Regions from separate parts of the Homo sapiens genome. Here region 1 is linked to region 2. Evidence: promoter capture Hi-C in human tissues and cell types (Jung and others, 2019). All regions are on one chromosome and are shown on one strand. Each heading gives the region's core, a stretch centred on a gene start or on the middle of the fragment in contact. The rest is flanking DNA. Distances are from core to core; before and after follow the strand shown. Region 1 has its middle 16 kb from the start of ACTR10. Region 2 holds the start of TOMM20L (translocase of outer mitochondrial membrane 20 like).

Region 1 (5,659 bases), core at 2,345-4,844, 210 kb after region 2:
AATTAGCCGGGCATGGTGGTAGGCGCCTGTAATCCCAGCTACTTGGGAGGCTGAGGCAGGAAAATCGCTTGAACCTGGAAGATGGAGGTTGCAGTGACCCGAGATTGCGCAATTGCACTCCAGCCTAGGTGACAAGAGCGAGATTTCGTCTCAAAAAAAAAAAAAATTGTTGATGTGGGGTGCATGTCTTTTAGAAATGTTTGAAAGTCCTTCTCATTATCCTAGGGGAAGAGGCTTCTCTTCTTCAATTCAGAGCCAATCCCTGCACTTGAGCTCTGGGCCTCATCCCTCACACCTTCTCAGTGGCCATGCTTCCTCAGTTATACCTGCCTCCTTCTGTTTCTCACCAGCATCTTTTAAAAAAAGAAAATCCTCCCTTAGCCTTATCTTCCCCTCTAGATGCCACCCTATCTCTTTTCTATTTGATCTTTGTGAAAGAGTTGTCTACATTCATTGCCTCATCTTTCTTTCTTCCCATCATTCCTTAACCTATTGCAGTCTGGATTTTGCCACTTGACCAATATTGCTCTTGCCAACCACATCAGTTTCTTCTTTGTTTGTTAAATCCAATGGACATAGGTCAGTGTTTAGCCTATTTGACTTCTCTGTAAATTTTCAAACTGTTGACTGCTCTCTCCTTGAAACTTTCTCTTCCCTTAGCTTCTACAACGTTACTCTTTTTTGGTTTATCACATATTTTATAGATATTTCTTTGGAGTTGTCTACTATTCTATCTCTTAATATGTTAATATACTGTTCTCTACCATTTTGTCTTGGGATCACTTCTTTTCTCATCTCCACACTTGCTTCCTCAGTTATCTTATTCTCTTTCATGGCTTCATTTACTATCATATACTCATGCCCAACTCCACTCTCACACAGGCTGTAACTTCAGCTCAGATATGTTGCCTGAGCTTAAAACTTTATTATCCAACAAAACACAGACACATTCTTTGTGGAGATCCCACAACCACCTTAAACTCAACATGTCCAAAACTTAACTACTCATAATCCTTTGAAAAGTGTCCCCATAGCCTACATTTTTTTTTCCAATCACTATGAAAGATCTTTCAGGAGCCTAGGCTGGAAACCAGAAATAGTTCTTCTCAACTCCTTCTTTCCTTTTACTTCCCATTTTCCATCAGTTACGAAGTCCTATGATTTTTCCTTCTCGTACATCTTGGGTCTATTATCATTTGTCTTAGTCTGTTCACGCTGCTATAATAAAATGCCGTAAACTAGGTATCTTATGCAAAACAGAAACTTATTTCTCATAGTTCTGGAGGCTTGGAAGTCGAAGATCAAGGTGTCTAGTGAAGGCCCACTCCCTAGTTCACTGAATTGTGCCTTCTCACTGCAACCTCACATGGTGGAAGGGGCAAGGCAGCTCCCTGGGGCTTTTTTTTTTCTTTCTCAAAATTGGGGAACTAATCTTATTCATGAGAGCTCTGCCTTCATGACCTAATCACCTCCCAAAAGGTACCACCTTTTAATACCATCACCTTGGGGGTTTGGATTTCAATGCATGAATCTGAGGGGACATAAACCTTCAGATCATAGCCCCTTCTCTCCATCCTTACTACTACTACATTAGTTCAGGCCTTCATCATCTTTCTTTCCCACTCTCTCTTGAATTTTACTTGTATATGAACACAGCATGGTAGCCATACAAAGATTTTAGGTTCTTTGCATTGTCACTTGAGTCTTTATGATCAGTAAATCTGTGAGAGGGAGGTTTGGTGAATATTGTCTTTTTCCAGAGTTCAGGGGTCAGATAGCCTGTAGGATTTGGAGATGGCATCAAAGATGACTTTAGCCAAGTTGTCCAAGTAGGAGTGCAGTTCCTGGCAGAAGTATAGCAGTTATTGATGTCAGTAATCAGCAGAAGTCTCTTAGGCACAAGAACAGAGAGATAATGTCACTTCATTTAGGGGCAAGAGTAAGATGCATCCCTAATGAGACCCAGCACCCTGTCACCTTAAAAGAGAGTATCACCTGGCAAGCATGAAGTGCTTGTTAATCTTGTTCTCCTAGCACAATTCACAGGAATTAAGCTATCTTGGTCAAGATGATGGCACCATTGACTTCCATGAAGCAGCTAGACTGCCACATCTGGCCGGGCACGGTGGCTCACACCTGTAATCCCAGCACTTTGGGAGGCCGAGGTGGGCAGATCACGAGGTCAGGAGATTGAGACCATCCTGGCTAACACAGGGAAACCCTGTTTCTACTAAAAATACAAAAAATTAGCTGGGTGTGGTGGCGGGTGCCTATAGTCCCAGCTACTCGGGAGGCTGAGGCAGGTGAATGGCGTGAACCTGGGACGCGAAGCTTGCAGTGAGAGGAGATAGCGCCACTGCACTCCAGCCTGGGTGACAGAGCGAGACTCTGTCTCAAAAAAAAAAAAAAAAAAAATAGACTGCCACATCAACCCAATGGCCACAAATGCCTTCAGCCTGGATCTTCTTCAGGACCTTGAGTGATTGCCCTAGGAGAGGGGGGAAATAAACCCCTCAGACTCCTTGATAAGCAGAAAGAGATCCCCTCCAAGGAAGTAATTTCCATGGCCTTGGCCAGGTGGCCCAGCTTGTATACCAAGGACCACTCCTTGTCCTAGGCCTTGCTGCCAAGGCCCTAGCCATCGCTGAGAAAGGATTCTATAAACTGCCTCAGTCCCTGACTTGATTGTCTTTCCCAGCGCATCAGAGTTTAGTCAAAGAACCAGCATCTTCATCTGCTATTTGGTATGTCCTCTACAAAGTAAAAGCCCTCAGCATCTCCTTCCTATGTTACTGCAACTGCTTCCTCACTAATTTTCCTGCCTTTAAGTATCATACTATCCCTTCATATTTCTCACCTAGTTTTATTTCTTTACACTGCTGCCCAAGACATCTTTCTAAAACCCAGCCCTCATCATGTCATCTTCCTGCTTAAAACCCATAATCATCAGGACAAATTCCAAATGAATTCCAGATCTCTCAGTATGACAAACAAAGTCCCTCATGACCTGACCCCTGCTCATCTCTCCCTGGCCTTACCATTCCCCTCTTAGAACTCTGCTAACATAGTAGTGAACTATGAGTATTTCCCAAAATGTGTGTGTTTTTTCAGTTCGCCCCTATGACTTAGCACACTGTTCCCTCTCCCTATCTGGAACACCTTCATCCTTCAGGACTCAGTTCAGACATTCCCTTTGTTAGGAAGTCTTCCCTGGCCCTCCAATTTTTACTAGTGCTTCTCCTTTGGGTTCCCTTCACTTTCTGTACAAACCTTTTATTACTTTGTTTTGTAATTTTCCTCTTTTCTTATCCACCCTTGGTCTTCCAAATATTTGAGTCTAAGGATGGTGTTTTAACTTCTTATTCTCAGAGCTGAACATACAAAGTATTCAATAAATTTTAAAAAAAATCGATCAATGATGCATAGAACAATGAATGAATTAAGCATATAATGAATGAGTAAAACAGAGTCTGTAATTTTCCCCCTTGTTTATAAAGAAGACCAGCCAACTAACCTTCAGAGGAGAGATCCAGACTTGTTGCCCTAAATTACCACTGCACAGTAAACTGCCTACAAAGTTCATTACATTGAGGTCTATCCTAGTAAACTATAAGAGAGTAATTCCCTTGATCCTTTCTTTGTTCTGGTTTTTAACATGACTTTTGTCAGCTGCCTTATAAAAAACAATTAGCATGGCCAGGCACATGCAGTGGCTCATGTCTGTAATCCCAGCCCCTTGGGAGGCTGAGACAGGAGGAGTGATTGAGGCCAAGAGTTCCAGACCAGTCTGGGCAACATAGTGAGACCCTGTCTCTAAAAAAACAAAGTAATTAGCATCTAGTTTCAAATGGCCTGGAGAGAAATACTTTAATTTTTGGATGATACTCCCTTTTGCATGTGAGAGAAGGCAATCAGGAAGAAAACTGACAAGAATTGAGTTATTTCACTGGGTCTCATGTTGATTAATGCCACACACTTCTTCTCAGTTGTAGTTTTCTTTTGTACTTACCCATCAACGTCTATCACTGTACAAATATATCACTAAACATATCATCCTAGGGTAGCATTTCTTTCTAATTTTATCACTTAACTATGATTCAGTGTTTATTTCTAGTTTGGCAAAGAGGACATTAAAAAATGTCTAAATAAAGTTGGCAAATGTTTTGATTTTAAAGCATAAATAATTTTTTCCTCCAAAGTATAATTTAATTTTTCTAGAAAAGTTCAAACAGGCTTTGTAGTTTTTGACAATATTCAAGCATTTTTCATACATAGGATAAAAACACATCTTATTAACTTTTTTCTTTGGAAAAATATTCATATTGCACAGAAGTATATCAAGTAAAATGTGTCCTTTCCCCAATACAGTCCTCTGCTCCTTCAATATGACTCCATGTAGCTCACCACTCTCACATTTTGGATATTTTCTATGTGTACAAACTCACACATTATTTTACATGAATGTGATAATTGCTTCTAAAACTTATTTTTTTTCACTGAAGTTACCTTAAAAAATCAAATTAAGTCTATATATATTCTCTCACCTCTTCCTTTTTAATAGCCATAGTTTTCATGGATTCATGGATGTATTATTATTTTTTTTTAGCAGAGTCCTTTTAGTGACTTAGATTATTTTTAGTTTTTCTCTATTATCAAAAACCACAGTGAATTTTTTTTTTTTTTTGACAGAGATTAGCTCTGTCACTCAGGCTGGATCACTGCATCCTCAAACTCCTGGTCTCAAGTGATCCTCCCACCTCAGCCTCCCAAGTAGCTAGGCACATGCCACCACGCCAGGCTATATATATATATTTTTTAAATGGAGTTTCGCTCTTGTTGCCCAGGCTGGGGTGCAGTGGGACTGTCTCGGCTCACTGCAACCTCCACCTCCCAGGTTCAAGAGATTCTCCTACCTTAGCCTCCTGAGTAGCTGGGATTTACAGGCGTGCACCACTATGCCCGGCTAATTTTTTTTTTTTTTTTTTTTTTTTGTATTTTTAGTAGAGACGGGGTTTCTCCATGTTGGTCAGGCTGGTCTCAGACTCCCGACGTCAGGCGATCTGCCTGCCTCGGCCTCCCAAAGTGCTGGGATTACAGGTGTGAGCCACCGCGCCCAGCCACGCCAGGCTAATTTAAAACTTTTTTTGGGCCAGGTGTGGTGGCTCACGCCTATAATCCCAGCACTTTGGGAGGCTGAGGCGGGCGGATCACGAGGTCAGGAGTTCAAGACCAGCCTGGCCAACACAGTGAAAACCCGCCTCTACTAAAAATACAAAAAATTAACTGGGCAAGGTGGTGGGCGCCTGTAATCCCAACTACTTGGGAGGCTGAGGCAGGAGAATCACTTGAACCCAGGAGGTGGAGGTTGCAATGAGCTGAGATCGCGCCATTGCATTCCAGCCTGGGCGACAGTACAAGACTCCGTCTCAAAAAACAAACAACAACAACAACAAAAATGGCCGGGCATGGTGGCTCATGCCTCTAATCCCAGCACTTTGGGAGGCCGAGGCGGGTGGATCACCTGGGGTCAGGAGTTCGAGACCAGCCTGGCCAACAGGGTGAAACCCCGTCTCTACTAAAAATACAAAGATTAGCCAGGCGTGGCGCCTGTAATCCCAGCTACTTGGGAGGCTGAGGCAGGAGAATCGCTTGAACCTGG
Region 2 (6,416 bases), core at 3,421-5,920:
CATAATAGGGTAAATGTAGCAACAATATTACCATTATTGAAGGCCAGCTATAAACTAGGAACTTTACATATATTATTTCCAATCCCTAGGAAAATAAGGCAGTCAATCGGAATAGGCAGCCATCAAAGGCATAGCGCCAAGCTGAGACTGTTTTTTTTTTTTTCTTTTTTTTTTTTTGGAGACAGAGTCTCACTCTGTTGCCCAGGCTGGAGTGCAGTGGTGTGATCTTGGCTCACTGCAACTTTCAGCTCACTGCAACCTCTGTCTCCCAGGTTCAAGCGATTCTCTTGCCTCAGCCTCCCAGGGACCTGGGACTATAGGCGTGCGCCACCATGCCTGGCTAATTTTGCATTTTTAGTAGAGATGGGGTTTCACCATGTTGGCCAGACTGGTCTTGAACTCCTGACCTCAGGTGATCCAACCACCTCAGCCTCTCAAAGTGCTGGGATTACAAGTGTGAGCCACTGTACCCAGCAAAGCTGGTCTTTAATCTGCAGAGTAGGGAGCTACTGCAAGGAATTACATATTCAGAGCTGCCATTTAGAAGAAATTTACTCTAACAGCATAAGAATAGAGGCAGGGTGGCAAGTTAGGAAACTATTACAATAACCTGGGTAAAAGGTAATAAAAGCCTTTAGTTGCAGGGAAGTAATAGAAATAGACAAGTGGAATATATATATATATATATATATATATATATATATATATATATATGCAATAGAGCATTTGAAAATAAGAATTGGTCATTGTTTATGATGGATGAAGTTGATATTTAAACAAGATGAGTCAGGGTCACAGCAGGGAGGCTAGTGATACCAGGAGCATCATAAGGAAACAGGAGTAGGCACAGTGGCAAGGTGGGGGAGATGATGAATTTACTTCGGGACACACTAAGGTGAGGTGCCAACAGAATGTCCAGATGACAGAGTCTGGTAGGCAGATGAAACTTGGGACACCAGGTCTAGAGTAGTACATTTGAAATCACTTTTGGAGAAGGGAAAGATCTTCTAGGGAGAGGGGGAAGAATACAGAACCCAAGGCCCATGTTTCACAAAGCATCACCTGAAGGAGCTGTTAAAACTGCAGTTTCTTGGACTCCACCCAGACCTACTGAATCAATCTCTGGGAGTAGGGCCCAGGAATTTGCATTTTTAAACAAACTCTTCAGGTGATTCTTATGGATCCTAAAGTCTGACAGTCACTGTGCCAGTAAGAATTCCCCAGGCTACTGGATCAGAATTGCTGGGATCAGGGTCAAATAATCCATATTTTAACAGATGCTCCAGGTAAATGTAATGCAGCAATGGACCATACTTTGGGAAAGTCCTGGGAAGAAGAGGAAGAAAGACCCTAGAAAAAGTGAGAAGAGACTCTTTATCTGCTTTGGTTTATTCATGTGTAAAATGAGAATAGAGGCCAGGCACAGTGGCTCCCTCGTGTAATCCCAACACTTCAGGAGGCCAAGGCCGGCAGACTGCTTGAGCTCAGGAGTTCAAGACCAGCCTGGGCAATGTTGCGAAACCCATCTCTGTAAAAGTACAAAAACTAGCCAGGCATGGTGGTATGCACCTGTAGTCCCAGCTATTTAGGAGACTGAGGTGGGAGAATCACCTAACCCCAAAAGGGTTGAGGCTGCAGTGAGCTGTGATCATTGCCACTGTACTCCAGCCTGGGCAACAGAGTGAGACCCTGTGTCAAAAAAAAAAAAATTAGAATAGAGTTGTGACAATTATATGAAAGGACATTTGAAAATCCTGCTTGTGCTGCTTCTTCACTTGAAATAATTTATTATTTCATATATGGGAAATAATATTAACAATTTATTATTAATAATTATTGATTTATATCAATAAATGATAGTGTGACTTAGTTATGGCTTAATATGAATATAATTAGATTATATTATAATTAAAATATGATTAATTTATATTAATATAAATCATTTATTATTTCCCATATGAACTGCCATTGACTGATTTTCTTGTCTTCAACTTCCTTTCTCCACACTGGAACCAGAATTGTCTTATTTAAAAAATAAAACCAAAATAATTGTGTCTGTTCTCTGAAATAAAGTCACCATCATTAGTTATCCACCACAACAGAAAAATGTCCTGACTTTTCAGTTTGGCATTCAAAGTCCTCCACGGTAAGACACTAAACTGACCCTCAGCTATCTCTCTGGCCATAATACTCCTTGAACATTACAATTTCATGTTCTGTGCCTCTGCACAAGGTGTTTCCCTCTGCCTACAATGAACAACAATATTCAACAAACATTTGCTGGGCACCTACCGCACTAGACTCTGTTCTAGGCACTGGAAACAATGGAGAGTAAAAAACAAAGTCTGCCCTCACACAGCTTAGTGTAATAAACGGAAAGCATTAATCAAATAATTACACAAATGTGCAAGTGAAACCATGGACAATGACGAGGGACATGGAGCTGTATCAGGCTCTGTCTCAGTCAAGTCAGGGAAGGTATCTCCACTCCCATGTCCAGCTCTTTGGACACTCCCTACCCAGCTAACTATGTCAAATGGGCTTTTATTCTCTACTGTGATTCCATTTTGAAACCCCGGAAGTGTCTTTGACTCCGCCTCTCCATTACCCTTTACTCAGTCGGCATGAACTGTATTCTTCCCAGTTACCACTACCACCACCATAGTTCAGGATTTTTATTACCTCTCAACTAAATTGCTGCAATAGCTTGTTTTCTTTTCCAATCCATTAAGTACACTCCTGCTTGATCAATCTAAGAATATTTCTCTTCTGCCTTTCTTTCCTTCTTTTTAAAAAATTCCTGCTTAGAAATCTTCAGTAATTCCTCCATTGAATCTCAGTTCCTTAACCTGGCCTTCAAAGCAAGCCTTCCCTAATTCAATCCTACTTTCGCTCTCCAACCTTACCACCCACTATTCCTCAGTATGACTCCTTTGCCAAACTGGTTTACTGAATGTGCTTGGCAGATGCCCCACTTTGCATCTTTATGCACATGCTGTTCCCTCCATCCTGTATCCTCTCCCCTGAAACCAAGCCACAAATTCATCATCCTTCCAGGCTCAGTTCAATGCCACTTCCGCTACAAAGTCTTCTCCGGAAAAACTGCATGTTTCAAAAATGGCTACCGCAATATTCCCGGTCACACAAGTGCTTTCAAAACCTTGCCATCCCTGTTGAGAGGTAGAATCTATTTCCTCTCCCTTTAAATTGAGTAGGCTTCAATGTTGCCAGAAGTGGTACCATCTGCTCTTCCACATGGGCACATGTTCTAGTTCACATGCATGTGCGTGCTCTCTCTATACACAGACACACACACACACACATATATATACACACATACATATATGTGTTTGCTTGTCCCTTGGGACACAGCCCATCACACAAATGAAGAATCCCAGATCACACAGACGTGTAGGTGCTCTGGCTAACAATCTCAGCTAAGTAAACATCCAGCATCAACTGCGGATTGCTTGTGGCCAGGAGTTCTAGTTCAGCCTGGGCAACATAGGAACACCCTTGTCTCTTTCTTTTTTTATAGACAGTGTCTTGCTCTGTCGCCCAGGCTGCAACTGCCACCTCCCGGACTCAAGCAATTCTCCTGCCTCAGTCTCCCAAGTAGCTGAGACTACAGGCACACGCCACCACTCCCGGCTAATTTTTGTATTTTTAGTAGAGACAGGCTTTCACCATGTTGGCCAGGCTGGTCTCAAACTCCTGACCTCACGTGATCTGCCCGCCTTGCCTCCCAAAGTGCTGGGATTACAGGCGTGAGCCACCAAGCCCGGCCCGCCTCTTAAAAACAACAAAAAAGGGACTAATCAAATTTTGCCGCAGAGATTTACAAAACACGAAGATGCCTTCTGCTTCTGAGCTACAAGAAAGGCCCTGCGGGAGAACAATCTAGAAGTTACTGCCATGTGACCGTGGCCAGCCTGGGTTTTTAAGTGTCCTGTGCGGCTCTGACAGGGCAAAAGGCTCCTCTTCCTTCTTCCAGTTAAAAGAAGTGCCTGTTGTACAGTGTTTTGCTTTGCAGCTGCCTTTTTATAACTCCAACTTCTTCCTCCTTCCTTCCCTCCCTTTTGTGAGAGGAGAGTGACTGGGCCTGAGGCGGTGCGTGGCGCGCGAGGGCAGGCCTCTTCCCGGGCACGGGCGGCTGAGGGAACTAACTACCTGCTGCCGAGCCCGCCAGGAGCCAAGCAACCCAGCGAGCCCGGACCTGCGTCTACTGAGCTACCTGTGCGGATCGAAAGCACTGCACCTGCGTGCCCTGCTCCTCAGCCTTTTGAGGCTCTGCTCTTCTTTCTGCGAACACAACACGGCACATGCTGGCTGGGAGGCCCGTCCAGAGGCACGCGTGGGCCCAGTGGTCCTGCCTGCCCGGGCGCCGCGGGCCCCTCGGCAGAGGCTGAGGCACTCACGGCCCGGCCTCTCAGTGGGGGGCCCTCCCGGCCGGCAGCCCGCCCGCGCTGCCCGGCCCGGCCGCGCCTCCGCCTCGGTCCCACTCACTGTCCCGCAGGCGGCGCTTGAACGCGGGGTCCCCGCGCCGCTTCCGGTTGAGGTAAATACAATAGCCCAGGAAGGCGAAGGCGCCACAGGCCGCCGCGGCGGCCAAGAGGCGGAGGAGGGAGCGGACGGAGGGCATCCGACCGCGGGCGTCCCACAAGCCGAGCGTTGGGCGCGGGCCGGCCGGCAGGGGGCGTCGGCGCGGCGGCCCATCCGGCCTCGGGGCCTCCTGCGCACCCAGCTGCGCGTTGACGCCTCGCACCCAGGCTTGCGGACCGATGAGGAAGCCGAGCGTTCGAGAGGGTGTGTGCGGGAGCCCTCACAGCCACAGAGTAGCAGAGCTCTGTTCGAACCTACGTCTGTCGCACTCCAAATTCTGAACCCTTTCTCCAAACACGCCTCTGCCCCTGTGTCTACAACACCCATTCAGGCAAAGCACAGTATGCTGCGAATCTGCTTTACTGGGAGCCAGTGGTCGTTTAGGTCTCTGTTCCCTCACCTGCAAAATTAAGTTGACTCTAAGGTCAACTTTGGTCACCTCCTAGTTCACATTGTCTAACAGTAGCCCGTACTCCCCAATCTGGTATCCTTTGTCTCCTGAAAGGACCCAGCAGTCCAAGGTCCAAGGGAGGAATTCAGAAGCAACACTGTTTAATCTAGAAAAATACGTTAAATTGCTGGGCTGAGACTGACAGTCAAAGGTCCCAAAGCAAAAACAACTGAGAGTCCCATGATACTGGCCTAGCTGCTTTTCTAATATTTGCCTTACTCAGCGGACACAGCAGAAAGAAAGAAGGTAAGACTTTGTCCTAAATACCAGAGTTCTGACTTTTCTACTAAGGAGGAGAAAAGGCATAAGCTAGGGACCTAAAGAACTAGATAATTCATTTTTATTTAGGTTATACAATTGCTATTTACTGATTTACAATTTACTGTTATTACTAGTGTGTGCATAGCAAGGTGCTCATCACTGCTCTGAATACCAGTGGGTCTAGCTAGGTGCAGTGGCTCACAACTGAAATCCCAACACTTTGGGAGGCTGAGGTGGGAGGATCACTTGAGCTCAGGACTTGGAGACCAACCAGCCTGGGCAACATTGCAAGAACCCATCTCTAAAAAAACAAAACAAGGGCCGGGCACAATGGCTCATGCCTGTAATCCCAGCACTTTGGGAGGCCGAGGCAGGCAGATCACAAGGTCAAGAGTTCGAGACCAGCCTGGCCAACATGGTGAAACACTGTCTCTACTAAGAATACAAAAATTAGCTGGGTGTGGTGGCATGTGCCTGTAATCCGTTACTTGGGAGGCTGAGACAGGAGAACTGCTTGAATCCGGGAGGCGGAGGTTGCAGTGAGCTGAGATTGTGTCACTGTACTCCAGCATGGGCAACAGAGCAAGACTCCGTCTCGATAAAACAAAACAAAAAAATACTGGTCGTGGTGTGCACCTGTAGCCCTAGCTACTCTGCAGGGATCACTTGAGCCTAGGAGTTGGAGGCTGCAGTGAGCTCTGATCACTGCCACTGCACTCCTGCCTGGGTGACAGAATGAGACCCTGTCTCTATAAAAATACATAGGTGGCTGGGCGTGTTGGCTCACGCCTGTAATTCCAGCACTGGGAGACCGAGGTGGGTGGATCACCTGAGGTCAGGAGTTTGAGACCAGCCTGGCCAACATGGTGAAACCTCATCTCTACTTAAAATACAAAAATTAGCTGGGCATGGTGGCACAAGCCTGTAATCCCAGCTACTTGGGAGGCTGAGTCACGAGAATTGCTTCAACCCAGGAGGCGGGGAGGTTGCAGTGAACTGAGATCAATCACACCACTGCACTCCAGCCTGGGCAACAGAGTGCGACTCTGTCTCAAAAAAAAAAAAAAAAAAATATATATATATATATATATATATATATATA

What was found. The method cuts DNA at HindIII sites, captures the fragments that hold promoters and counts their contacts. A contact is called where the count stands out against the background at its distance.
Region 1: a fragment that was not itself captured here is called in contact with the fragment with the promoter of TOMM20L in region 2 in 1 of the 25 tissues and cell types used here (spleen).

The regions. Positions count from the first base shown.
Region 1 is chr14:58,181,557-58,187,215 of GRCh38, reverse strand. No RefSeq gene overlaps it. Among named protein-coding and RNA genes, the nearest start is that of ACTR10, 16 kb to the left of the region's middle. The HindIII fragment of the contact is 5,011 bases long and covers 1,089-5,659 here.
Region 2 is chr14:58,394,184-58,400,599 of GRCh38, reverse strand. It overlaps TOMM20L (translocase of outer mitochondrial membrane 20 like), which reads right to left and starts at 4,670. Exons shown (of 5, transcript NM_207377.3): 1 at 4,507-4,670; 2 at 4,259-4,302. The coding sequence starts at 4,642. TOMM20L-DT (TOMM20L divergent transcript) reads left to right here and starts at 4,895. Exons shown (of 2, transcript NR_187161.1): 1 at 4,895-5,299. RefSeq lists silencers at 4,223-4,272, 4,343-4,862. The HindIII fragment of the contact is 11,412 bases long and covers 1-6,416 here.